Linked DNA regions of Homo sapiens: all the other regions are linked to region 1. The links are contacts of gene promoters, found by promoter capture Hi-C in blood cells and fetal thymus (Javierre and others, 2016). All regions are on one chromosome and are shown on one strand. Each heading gives the region's core, a stretch centred on a gene start or on the middle of the fragment in contact. The rest is flanking DNA. Distances are from core to core; before and after follow the strand shown.

Evidence for each region. Contacts are between HindIII fragments. The CHiCAGO score rates a contact against its expected background, and 5 or more counts as called.
Region 2: a contact is called between a fragment that was not itself captured here and the fragment with the promoter of HMGCS1 in region 1, in 2 of 17 cell types (non-activated CD4 T cells and naive CD8 T cells). The highest score is 7.5, in non-activated CD4 T cells.
Region 3: a contact is called between a fragment that was not itself captured here and the fragment with the promoter of HMGCS1 in region 1, in 1 of 17 cell types (total B cells). The highest score is 6.0, in total B cells.

Annotation. Positions count from the first base shown.
Region 1 is chr5:43,311,159-43,315,173 of GRCh38, forward strand. HMGCS1 (3-hydroxy-3-methylglutaryl-CoA synthase 1) reads right to left here and starts at 2,254. Exons shown (of 11, transcript NM_001098272.3): 1 at 2,198-2,254. RefSeq lists enhancers at 2,024-2,163, 2,414-2,643, 2,650-3,166, 3,167-3,681, 3,776-4,015. The HindIII fragment of the contact is 3,835 bases long and covers 1-2,970 here.
Region 2 is chr5:42,752,564-42,756,671 of GRCh38, forward strand. No RefSeq gene overlaps it. Among named protein-coding and RNA genes, the nearest start is that of CCDC152, 2.2 kb to the right of the region's middle. The HindIII fragment of the contact is 564 bases long and covers 2,509-3,072 here.
Region 3 is chr5:42,616,668-42,620,321 of GRCh38, forward strand. All of the region lies in intron 2 of GHR (growth hormone receptor), which reads left to right. Among named protein-coding and RNA genes, the nearest start is that of CCDC152, 140 kb to the right of the region's middle. The HindIII fragment of the contact is 4,544 bases long and covers 1-3,654 here.

The DNA.
Region 1 (4,015 bases), core at 1,004-3,503:
TTCTAAAAATACAAAAAAATTAGCTGGGTGTGGTGGCACATGCCGGTAGTCCCAGCTACTTGGGAGGCTGAGGCAGGAGAATCACTGGGAGGCATAAGTTGCAGTGAGCCGAGATCACGCTGCTGCACTCCAGCTTGGGCGACAGAGCGAGATTCTGTCTCCCCAAAAAAAAAAAAAAAAAAAAATCTAGTCCTATCATTAGGACAGGTAATATGTATCCCACCTTTTAAATCTATACTACCTTCTTGAAAAACATAAAAATATCACACATCCTTCTATGATATTTGGTTCCACAGTAACCCAGCATAAAATTATAAGGCTATATTCCTTTCTAAATGAAACTAATTGGAGATTCTGATATGTAGCAAAACAAACTTCTCCAGCTACATCTCATATCCAATTCCACTGGATTATGGAAGATCCAACCAGGTTTTAAATGATTCTAGAGGACACAGGAAACTGATGTTACAACAATATCGGGTTTTTGCGTTTATTTCTTCTGAGAAAAGCTATCTAAAATCTAAGTCAAAATCTCAAAATCAATCCACAGTTAAAAGAAACAAGATGTAAAAGCAATCTGGAGGGATATTTAAGATGAAAAACAAAATTAAAACAAGGCCCAAATGATGTGGCCTATGGCTCCAAACATAAAATATCCTTTTACACTCCCTCCCCACAGCGTAAGTCAGACCTTCTGAGTGCTGGGGTTACTGATGATTATACTAGAATTGAGCTGAACTAAAGTAGAACCGAATAAAGGGCAAACTTACAAACTTAGGTGAGAAATATCTACAAAGGTAGACACAAAGAAAGCCTTTCTCTCTTCCCATAAGGTATGCTATCCCTGCCCCCTTCTTCACACAAAAATAACTGCAATTTTAAAATAAAGTTTAAAGAACACAAGCTGCTTAGGTGTCTCAAGTGCAAAGAACTACTGACACGGATAATGTTAACGACTTTCAACTGCCTCTCATCTAATAGTATCTGTGCAATAAAGTCCAAAACACATCTCAGAAGGAAAAATCTGTTAACTCTAGGAGCACTTCCATTTGTCTTAATTTTGTTGTTTATCTTGTCATTGTTTTTCATATTCATGCCTAAAACAGAGCAAATGTTAGTTAGCAGCAACCAGAACACATCATCCTACTGCAGCAGGTGGCAAGAGCATCCTCGGGAAGGTGGGGAGCTGCAGCAGAGGTGAGCAGTGAAAGCAGCTACTGATGCCTTAAGGCTAAGGCCATAGGGACAAGCATGACAAACAGGCACAACCTCACATTATTTGTTCCCCAAATCCCTCCTCCAGAGTGGATCAGAATAATCGTTTCTCTACCACTGGTCAAGGCCAGACGTGGGTTTTCAAAGACTCCATATACTTGCTTTGAAATATCCTTAGCTTAATCCAAAACCTATTTGTGGGAGGACTCTGTGAGTGCCTGCCCATTACACTGTATCACCTAAAGCTGGTCCCGAAGGTATTAGTAGGAGAGAGATGTGGGATTTCAGAACACCAAGGAAGCCTATTTTTTAAAACGTAGACAAAAAAAAATATGGAGGCAGGAAGGCGGGAGGCAGTGATCTATGAGATTTGAAGCAAGTACAGACTGAGCCCCAGTACTTAGCCAGGTCTAAATCACGGTTGTGAACGCTTTCTTGCACCTGAGCTGAGGAAGAAAAGTAATGCTACCCACTTCCCTTCTTTCCATCAACTCTATATGTGGCAGCAGGACACACCCCCTGCGAACCTACCAGCCTCCGTCTAAAGAGGATCTTGCCCATCCTTTGGCGTCCACCCTTAACCAACGCTCTGGAAACGCCTTGGTAGCCCAACTGTCTTCTCTCCCCCTCCTGACACCCCCCACTCACCTCTAGGCGGTCACAGCTGCCTCTCTGGCACCTCCAACTCCTCTGTCGTTAGAATACCTAGACCTCAACGCCCTCTCGCGTTCTCCCCTCCGCGACTCGCCTGTGTTCTCGGATCTTCTCAGATCCGCTACGGTCGGCCTCAGGTCCCTCACGAGGGAACCCCCGCCCGGCCCCGCTCACGGTGCCCCATCCTCCCGGGCAAAGTCCACGCCTACGTCCTGACCCAGAGCCCCAGCTCCTTCGGGCCTAGTCAAGGACACCGCCTCTGTCTGGCCCACACCCCGCCCGCGGCACCTCCGCAGCCCAGTTCTACTCCCCAGCGCGGGACACTCACCAAGCGTGACCGAGCGGCAGCAGAGGAAAGGGAGTGAGCCACGAAAGGACAGTCCGCGGCGCCTCCCCTTCGCCACCAGCTTTATAGCCGCCAACCCACCCGACTCCGGCACCGCCGAGAGTCGCTGGGAGGCGGGACGGTGGCTCCCACAGCCAATCGCGGCCGGTAGAGTTGCCCGGCAGCGCCCGCCCCCCAGTCCGGCTTCTACCAATCAAAAGGAAACTAGAGGCGATGACTCGCTAGGATTTTCCCTCGTGGCTGGAAGGGCGGGGAGAAGAGGCGGGGACAAAGTCTCAGGGCCGAGGAAGTGGTGTGAGAGACTGACGTGAGGTGGCACGAGAGCCCAGTTGCCAATGACGGAGCTGCGAGATACGGCGAGAGCCAACGGGAGCGGAGTGAGAGGTTCTCCGACCAATTGGGACTAAGTGAGAGGAGATGCGGGCCAATGGGTACTCCGCGTCCCACCGCTGGAGAGATGGTCAAATGTGGGAGGCGAGGTGGTCCCAGCTTGGGAGTCTGTCAGGTTGCCTAGCAACCAGAACTAGGCTTCACCTGAAAGATTTCTGAAATACTGTACTTGATTTGAATTCAGTCTTAACGTTTTCTAGCAAAGTGTGCGTAGATTGCAAATTGGAGCAGAATACTTCACCCAGAACTTGTATATGTGTAAATAGTCTAAATACCCGATTTGTAAATACTCAAATATTGTCTCCTTTATTCAAAACTACCTTGACTTAAAGAAAACAGAACAAACAAAAGTGCTCTTGAGACAAAGCTTTCTAACTAAACCTAAAACAAAATGGTTTCAGGATTAGGCATCCGTGGGGAGGGTGCAGAGCCTTGCCTGTGAAGGGAAGTTGATACTGAATTCAAGGATTTTTGCCAGGCCATGCACTCTGAGGAAAGGGACTCCATTTGGCCTGTTGCCCACTGTATCTTCTAAGCTTCATATGTGGTACCTGCCAAGTAAAAGGCTGTGGAAAGGCCACGTAATTGTCGGCATAGTAAATCCATCGGATACGGACTGCCTAACTCCCCCAGCAAATAGAGAGGAGCAATTCAAGCTAGAGGAATTCACTGAAACACTATTTGGGGGAATCCAAAGGAGGACACTTGTGGCTTTGCAATAAACTCTGCCTCTATCTGGTCAGAGAGAGAAGCCATAATACTTAGCTTTGGTGGGGGACCATGAGTGAGGTTCGGAGTTGTTTGTATCTCTCCCCATCTCAATTTAATTAACAGGAATGCTATTGATAAGGGGTCATTGGTAATTCTGTGATTCACACAATTATTGTTATGGGAGATTCTTTTAACCACTATAGATGCTAACCTAGTAAGACACATTCTCAGCAGCAAAGTGGCAAAATATATTGGAAATGGAACCACTGTGAAGTGGTGGCATAAATGACTTGGGGGAAGAGGACCACTCAGTAATGATTTCCATTCCACAGTATTGCCCATGACTCACTTCATATGTATGTAAAGTAACTAGATAGTAAACAGAGAGAGAGACATTGCCTGATTATGATCAACAGCAATTTGGGGTGGGGTAGGAGATTAAAATTCTTGGCATATTGGAATATGCTGAAAGGCAGTAAGGACAAACACAAGAAAGAAGATACAGTTTTGTCGTTAGGAATCGCAAATAATTCCAACTCCAGGAGTACATAATGGGAAATGATTAGCCAGACGGTCATGAGAATGACCATCTTACACAACCGGAAATTTCTACAAGGAACAGACCGTCTTTTTGATCACGTTAATCTTCAATTAAGCAAAGTGAGCATGATTATTGATTACTGGGAAGCCAAGCAATGG
Region 2 (4,108 bases), core at 1,541-4,040, 560 kb before region 1:
CCGGGGTTCAAGGGATTCTCCTGCCTCAGCCTCCCTAATAGCTGGGATTAAAGGTGCCTGCCACCATGCCCGGCTAATTTTTTTTTTTTTATATTTTTAGAAGAGATGGGGTTTCGCCATGTTGGCCAGGCTGGTCTCAAACTTCTGACCTCAAGTGATCCACCCACTTCGGCCTCCCAAAGTGCTGGGATTACAGGCGTGAGCCATCATGCCCAGCCACCCACAGCTAACATTTTGATGGAGGACAGTCGCTGAGTAAATAAAATAAAAGTGAGACCTGAAGGGTACATTAAAATGTTAGCCCTTCAGTTCTCACTTTTATCTTATCTACTCAGCGACTGTCCTCAATCACTGTAACTGAAGCACCTCCCACTCACTTTTAAAATCGATATCATAGATTTGTGTTTCTTCGCACTTATTACAATTTTATGTATAGGTAATTTACTCAATGTATTACCTATTTCCCTTTTAAACTATAAGTCCTCTAAGGTCAGGGGCCAATCTGTTTTGTTTATTCCTAGTTTTCTCATAGACCTCAGGACATAGTTGGTGCTCAAGTATTTCTTGAATAAATAAATGTGTAATTACTGATAATCTTAAAAAGGCAAAGGAAAGAAATAAAAAGCTCTAAAAGCTTTCTACACAGAAGATCAATGCTTCTCAAACATTTATATGCACATGAATCACCTGGTAATGTTGTTAAAATGCAGACTTTGATTTAGCAGTTATGGGATAGAGTCTGAGACTGCATTTTTACAAGCCCGCAGGCGATGCCCATGTTGCTGGTGCAGAGACCACACTTTGAAAAGCAGGGGCCTAGATCATGATTCATTATGATTGCCATTTCTGATCCAATCTAGCCTTTTTCATAGAGATACTTCGAAAGTGTCTTAAAAAGCTCATTTCCACCTTTACTCTCAGGCTAATATTGAGGAAATTGCCTATTAAATTATCCAGTGCCTCCTATATGAATCTTAATGTGAAAAATTAAGAAGTTAGAGTTAGGGAACATGGTTCCTCCTGAGAAACTTGTATGTTTTCTCCTCTTTTACAAAAATAAATAAATAAACTAAGTAGTTAAGCCTGTATCCTTTTTTATTCCAACCATCAGTAAATTCAAAGCCAAATTTGTAGCAGAAATATAAAAACTTTGTTGACCTACAGGCCAGAGTATTTCTGTTTTATTTCTCTACTGCTCTTCAATTTCTAATTTATATTTCACCTTGTATAGGTGAAATATGTATGTAGCATTTTTAAATAAATATTCATGGAAATGAGAGCAAGCTGAAATTTCAGCAGTTGGTGAATTTGATTCAAAGACAAAAAGCATGGCCTAAACAGAGGTAAGAATATCGAGAGAGTTAAATAATAGGGCTGGAACAAAGGACTCCATAGATTAGCCAAACCACTTATAAACATTTGCTGTGATATGGGAGCAACACCATAATATTTTGTTGTTATAATATGCCGGTGATAGTAACTAAAATAATCAAGTGAGATTCCAATGCCAGAGCAATATTGCCAATAACATACACTAGATTTCAATCCTCTGCTAGTCTCTCCTTTGAGACTGTAAGCTCCAAGGCAAAAGGAGAGTCTCTTATTTGTCTTTGCTCTCCTTAGTGCCTAGACTTGCAGCAGCTGATGTTTTGTAAGTACTTAAATATTTTAGAATGAATTAATGAGTGAAGCTGTTTTCAACCTAAAAAAATCAATGTATCACTCATTTTAAGATCTTTATGTACATAAACCGGTAGCTTCTGATTTTTTTTCAGCTGCCCAGGTACATATGCATTTCTCTTCCAAATCAGGGTATTTTTAATGAATTCCAGTGTTACTTTCTTTGTTAGTATGACAAAATAATGTAGTTTGTTTCTCTATTTTGGTTTTCCAGGCAGTCTTAAAATATATATTAAATAAATCCTTGATCTATCAGAAAATAAATATTCTCTTTTTTCCCAACTTTTATTTTGGGCTTGGGGGGTACATGTGCAAGTTTGCTACATGAGTAAATTGCATGTTGCTGACATGTGGTGTATGAATGATCCCACATCCAAGTAGTAAGCAAAAATGAATATTTTCTGAGCAAATATTTGATGAATTCTGTTTCTCAGTTGGATGGTATCTGAAGAATAAGACTGTGAATACAACTGTGAAACACATTCACTTTTTAAAGATGAAATCATGACAAGTTCATTTAGTTTCTCATTGAAAGATGCACTCTAAACCTACTAGAATTCTTTGAAAAAAATGCTAACATCTATAAACTGGAAGATAAACTTGCAACCCATTCTAAACTAGAAAAATTAAGCTAAACTTTTCTGACTTATTCCTGATGTGTTGGTTCATTTCTATTTTCTCTATGGTAGGCTCTATGGAGAAATATATACATATACATATATATGTGTATATATATATACATATATGTGTGTTTGCATATATACATATATATATATATAATATTCCAACTTTCTTAGTCTCTACATCCCAAAATCATTAGATAGTCAAAGCTTCTGTATTTCAAATGTTGGAACATCCAGAAGATTTGGAAGTACAGATGAGGCAGGGGATCTAGGGAGCTCCCTCTCCACCTTACACATTCCAGTCACCACATATTTTCAAAGGACTCCTGAAATTTGCCTAGGATGGGCCTAGGTGGAACTTAATACATACATACATACATACATACATACATGCGCGTGTGTGTGTGTGTGTGTGTGTGTATATATATATATATATATATATATATAAAGAAAATAGAGTTTCTTCCCCCAAGGAGCCAATAATAAATACAGCAAAAGAGGTAATACATCAATTCAGTCTTAACAAATGCCACAGAAAGCTAGCATGTTCCATAGAGTAAGGAAAGGTAGATCACAACTGATTGATACGATCAGTGAATGACTCATGGAGAAGGTAGCATTTTAGCATTTAGGGTCTTAAAATGGGCTTGTTTCAAAAGTTATTATGACATGAGTTACATGGAACATTTTATATTTGCTAATTGGGTAGAACCCGCAATTCAGCAGGTCATTTTCAATATTTCTATGTGTTGCTACTAATGTTAGGGAAAGCTTATTTGAGCAGCAGAGTGAAGACTACAACCCCCATTTTCCACTTTAACCTAATTTTCTTGCCATTATGCCACACTACCTTTCAACTAGTAAAGTATGGGTTATCATATTACTGTTTATATTTTTTCACTTGCCAAATTTTGGAGTCTATCGAAAAATCACATTAACAAAAATAAACCTCCCATCTCCCACTCAGAAAAAAAAAAAAAAGCAGATGAGCAAAGTTGGCAGTGGATTCGCTTTCAAACTATTACTGAACAACATTCAAAAATTCTAATAATTAACATTTCTGAACACTTACTTTAAGCAAGGATCTCCATTAAGCACCTTATAAATGCATCACTTCATTTAATCATCACAACCGTCCTAAGAGGCAGGCTTCTTTTTTTTTTTTTTGACTGAGTCTTGCTGCTGCGGGTCTCGGCTGGAATGCAATGGTGCGATCTCCGCTCACTGCAACCTCCGCCTCCCGGGTTCCAGCAATTCTCCTGCCTCAGCCTCCCAAGTAGGTAAGATTACAGGAGCCCGCCACCACGCCTGGCTAATTTTTGTATTTTTAGTAGAGACGGGGTTTCACCATGTTGGCCAGGCTGGTCTCCAACTCCTGACCTCAGGTGATCCACCCCCCTCGGCCTCCCAAAGTGCTGGGATTACAGGCGTGAGCCACAGCGCCCGGCAGAGGCAGGCATTATAATTAATCTCTTATACAGATGAAGATGCTTAGGTGCATGAAATTAAGAACTTACCCACTATCACCCACGGAAAAAGAGAAGAGTTGGGGTTTGAATCCACGCAAGAGCCCACGCCCTTAATCATTAAGCTACCAAGATATAACTCTGTAGATGGGAAACCATATCTATTAACTGGCTCTGGAATTTTAAAAGGCAATTTTATAAGTTACAAAAATAGATATGGATAATTATTTATTCAATGGAGCTGACTCACAATTCAGAACACCCAATGTGATTTATTCTTTGGTTGGGGAAACAATTATTGATCCGGTGTTGATTCATGTTCTGGAAACCACATGAAAA
Region 3 (3,654 bases), core at 241-2,740, 700 kb before region 1:
TTTGCAGGGGAAAAAAAAAAAAAAGCTAGAATATTGGAGGGAAGAGTTTTGTAACAGGACAATATTTATGGGTCGGGCAGAGGAAAAGAAGCCAGTAAAGGAGACCAAGAAAGAACAGTCGGTGAGCTAGAAGGGACACCAAGTGGCTCAGGCATCCTCAAAGCTAAGCAAAGAGCATATTTTTAAAAGACAGTAATGTACTGGGTCAAATGCCTCTGAGAAGTTAAGTAATATAAGAAATAAGAAGGGACTATTGAATTTGATATGAACAGGTTTAGTGGAATGGAAGGATTAGAAGTAAAACCAAAGTAGATTCAGAAGAGGAGAAATTAGGAAGTAGAGACAGCCATTCAGACAAGGACTTAAAAGATCCAGGAATGGAAAGGAAATTCCTGGGAGCGCAACCCCTAAGAAGCCAAAAATAGAGTATGCTTTCCATGTAGGTTTTTAATTCTTTTTTGGTGGTGTTCTTTAGAAAGAGAAATGTCTGTTGGGATTATTGTTTGAAATGGTGTTGGGGGCCCAACCATTTCTGGCTTCTATAGATCCCCTTTTTGTACATGCTCATTCCCTTAAAAAAAAAAAAGAAGAAGAAGACTAGATTTTCTAATTTAGGGCAAGGGGCTAATAGCAAACCAAACTCATTTGTAATCTAAATGGTCACATATTATTTTGGTTGCTCTTCAGTGGCACTAGCTGCTGCTAGGAAGTTCATTTTACACACACACACACACACACACACACACACACACACACACAGCATTTGCTGCAGATCCTAAACTTGAAGCCCTGGATCTTCCTTACATCATTTACCCAGAAGTATCTTTGTCAACCTTCTTAACTTACATCCACCAGAAAGTAGAACAAGGCAGAAGTTGTGTGGGAGTTCTGTTCCTCCCCATTTCCCCCCTCACCTGCTGGCGTCAGCACAATAAATACTGTGTTCAGAACTTGGCTAACTGCTTCTTTTCCCACATTCGATCAGGGAATACTTAAAGCCATACAGTGTCCTTGTTCTGCCAAAAAGCATATGGGGCAGGTTGCCCCTTCAGGCTGACACAAAGACACACTGTGCAAGACATCTATGGCCAGTGGAGTGGCCGTGTATGGGTTATCAATGAGACTTTTGACTTTTTTCTTTATGTCATATTGTCATCACATTAAATAGAATTCAAACAAGGAAACAAAATTTATATTCTAGACTTTTAAGGCATTGCCTGCCCTATAGCTATGAAACTTTTCTTTTTCATACCTGGTATAATTTTCCACTTTAAACAATGTTGTGTGATTTGATTACCGTTTTGACTCTCATTTAATTGTCCATTTTAAAAATTTTAACTGAAGTTAGATTTAGATTTAAAGTTCAATACCCATAAAGGATACTTCTCAATAGAGCCGAGAACTTCAGAAGGCACAACAAAAAAAGGGCAAAGTTCAAAAAACTAAGCATCAGGTAGCTACTTTTTACTGCCCAGGGACATGTCTAGGTAAACTGTCACCATATCCATCTACATTTGCTTGCTAGTAGAGCTTCCATTTTCTACTGCAAAATAGTTTCTGGAACCACTTCCATGTTGGCCAAAAGAGAGTGTCAACAATTCCTTTCCAAAATTGACCTTTAGAAAGTGAATCTAAAATGTTTGATTCAAGTATGTGAGGGGAGCTGCATCAAAGTTTTCATTTTTACTACATACAAAAGTGACAGATAAATCCGTAAAATGTATGCATTTTTCTGCTAAGACTGCTAATTAATTTAAAAAGAGATTGTTAGAATAAAAGGTCAGAGAGTAAACATATTACAGATATTTATTGAGAGCCTGCTGTGTGCAGAGTTGGAAAAAATAAAATGAGGTTGCTCCTTTCAACAGACTTACAATCTAATTGAGGGAGCGACAGCATAAATGTATGCAAAGCAAATAATGCAAGATACAGCATAAGACATAATTAACTATCAGATGAGTGACATATATAATAAATACCATTAATTCACAGGCAATCGTAATCAGAAGCACTTAACTTACTATGTGCCAGGCATTCTGCTCAGTACTTCACATACATTATTTCATTTTTTTGAAATATTATTTCTACTTTATAGATGGGAATTGGCTCTGATCTTCCCCCTATTCTGGAGAAAGCAAGGATAATGGTGTAAGGTAGACAAAGACCCAAGCAGACATGTTGGTCTGGGGCAAAGGTCCATTTAAGGGAATGGAGAGAAATGAACCCTGGGGCCAGCATTAGTCTGTTTACAACCATATCCCAGTGCCTAGTATAGTGCCTTGCACATAATAAGTGCTCAATAATATGTCTTGAAAAAACAAATGGCCCTCTGGTCTGTGCCTGTAATCCAGATCAAGTACCATGGAATAAAGTTAATTAGTGAATTAAAGCCACATACCACATAGCTTAAGGACCCATCCCCAAGACCTCCCAATTCCCAACTATGACAATAAAGGATTGCAGTGGAAAAGATACATCATAAGGGGAATAGCAATAGCAATTCCAGCTCACTGGGGTCTATTTCATGGAATCTGACATGGTGAACAGTTCATAAGTTTATTTCCAGGCTGCAAGACCCTGCAACATCTGGCCTCTTGCACCTCCACAACCTCAAATCCTTCTATTCTTCTCTCACTCTCTCTACTCCTGCCACACATACCTCCCTTCTACTCCTCAAACCCATTTCAGGGCCTATATTCTTGCTTCATATTGCCTGGAATGTTCTTCCACAAAACATCTGTGTGGCTCATTACCATACCTTCAGATCTATAACAGCCACTCTCCCCACATCTTCCCAGCTGCCTGACATTATAATACACATCTATTTCCTTATGTGTTCATCCCCGTACACACTAGAACATGGGCCCAGGAAGGCAGAATTCCATCTGCTGTTTTTGCCATTGAATGCCCAGCAACTAGGACAGTGCCTGGCACATTGTAAGTACTCACACACAGCAACTCTAACTCAGGATTACTTTTTCTAGCTCTGAAATACCTACTTCCAAGAGAACGAAATTTATTCAAGAAATGTTGGATGGAAATTGAAGAGTGAGCTTGGAAACGAGACACAGAGTGGCAGGAGCCCAGACCAACCTGTTTATGAAAGATGCCTTTGCCCATAGAGGGAAAAATACACCTTAAAACCTCTGCCAAAGTATATGCTTTCTTAGGACACCTCTGACATGCTGAATTGCACCTGGTCTGAACAAGATCTATGAATTTGCCAAAACAACTAATTCCTGTGATTTAAGAGTCACTACTACCAGTATCAGCCTAGTAAACAAGTACCAAGCAACGAGCACCACATATGTCAGTATCCAAAGACAAACATGCTGCTGCATGCAAAACCAGACAAATGCATTCACGCGGGTGACAGTGAGTGGAAGAAATTAATCTTATTTTTATTATTTTTTCCCTTATCAAACACTAGCAAGGGACTAGATGTCATAAATCTAGTTAAAATATGTTGACTTTGCCTCAAATTTGAGCATTCATGGTTCCAAAAGGACACTTGTTATAGGATCTGATGATGTACTTTAGAATCTTCTTTTGTGCAAATTGAGACTTCAGAGAACTCAAAATATATGGTAAATTCAAAGTAATATTATAAGTAAAATCATAATGCCTCACAACATTTTTTGAAAGTTAAATATT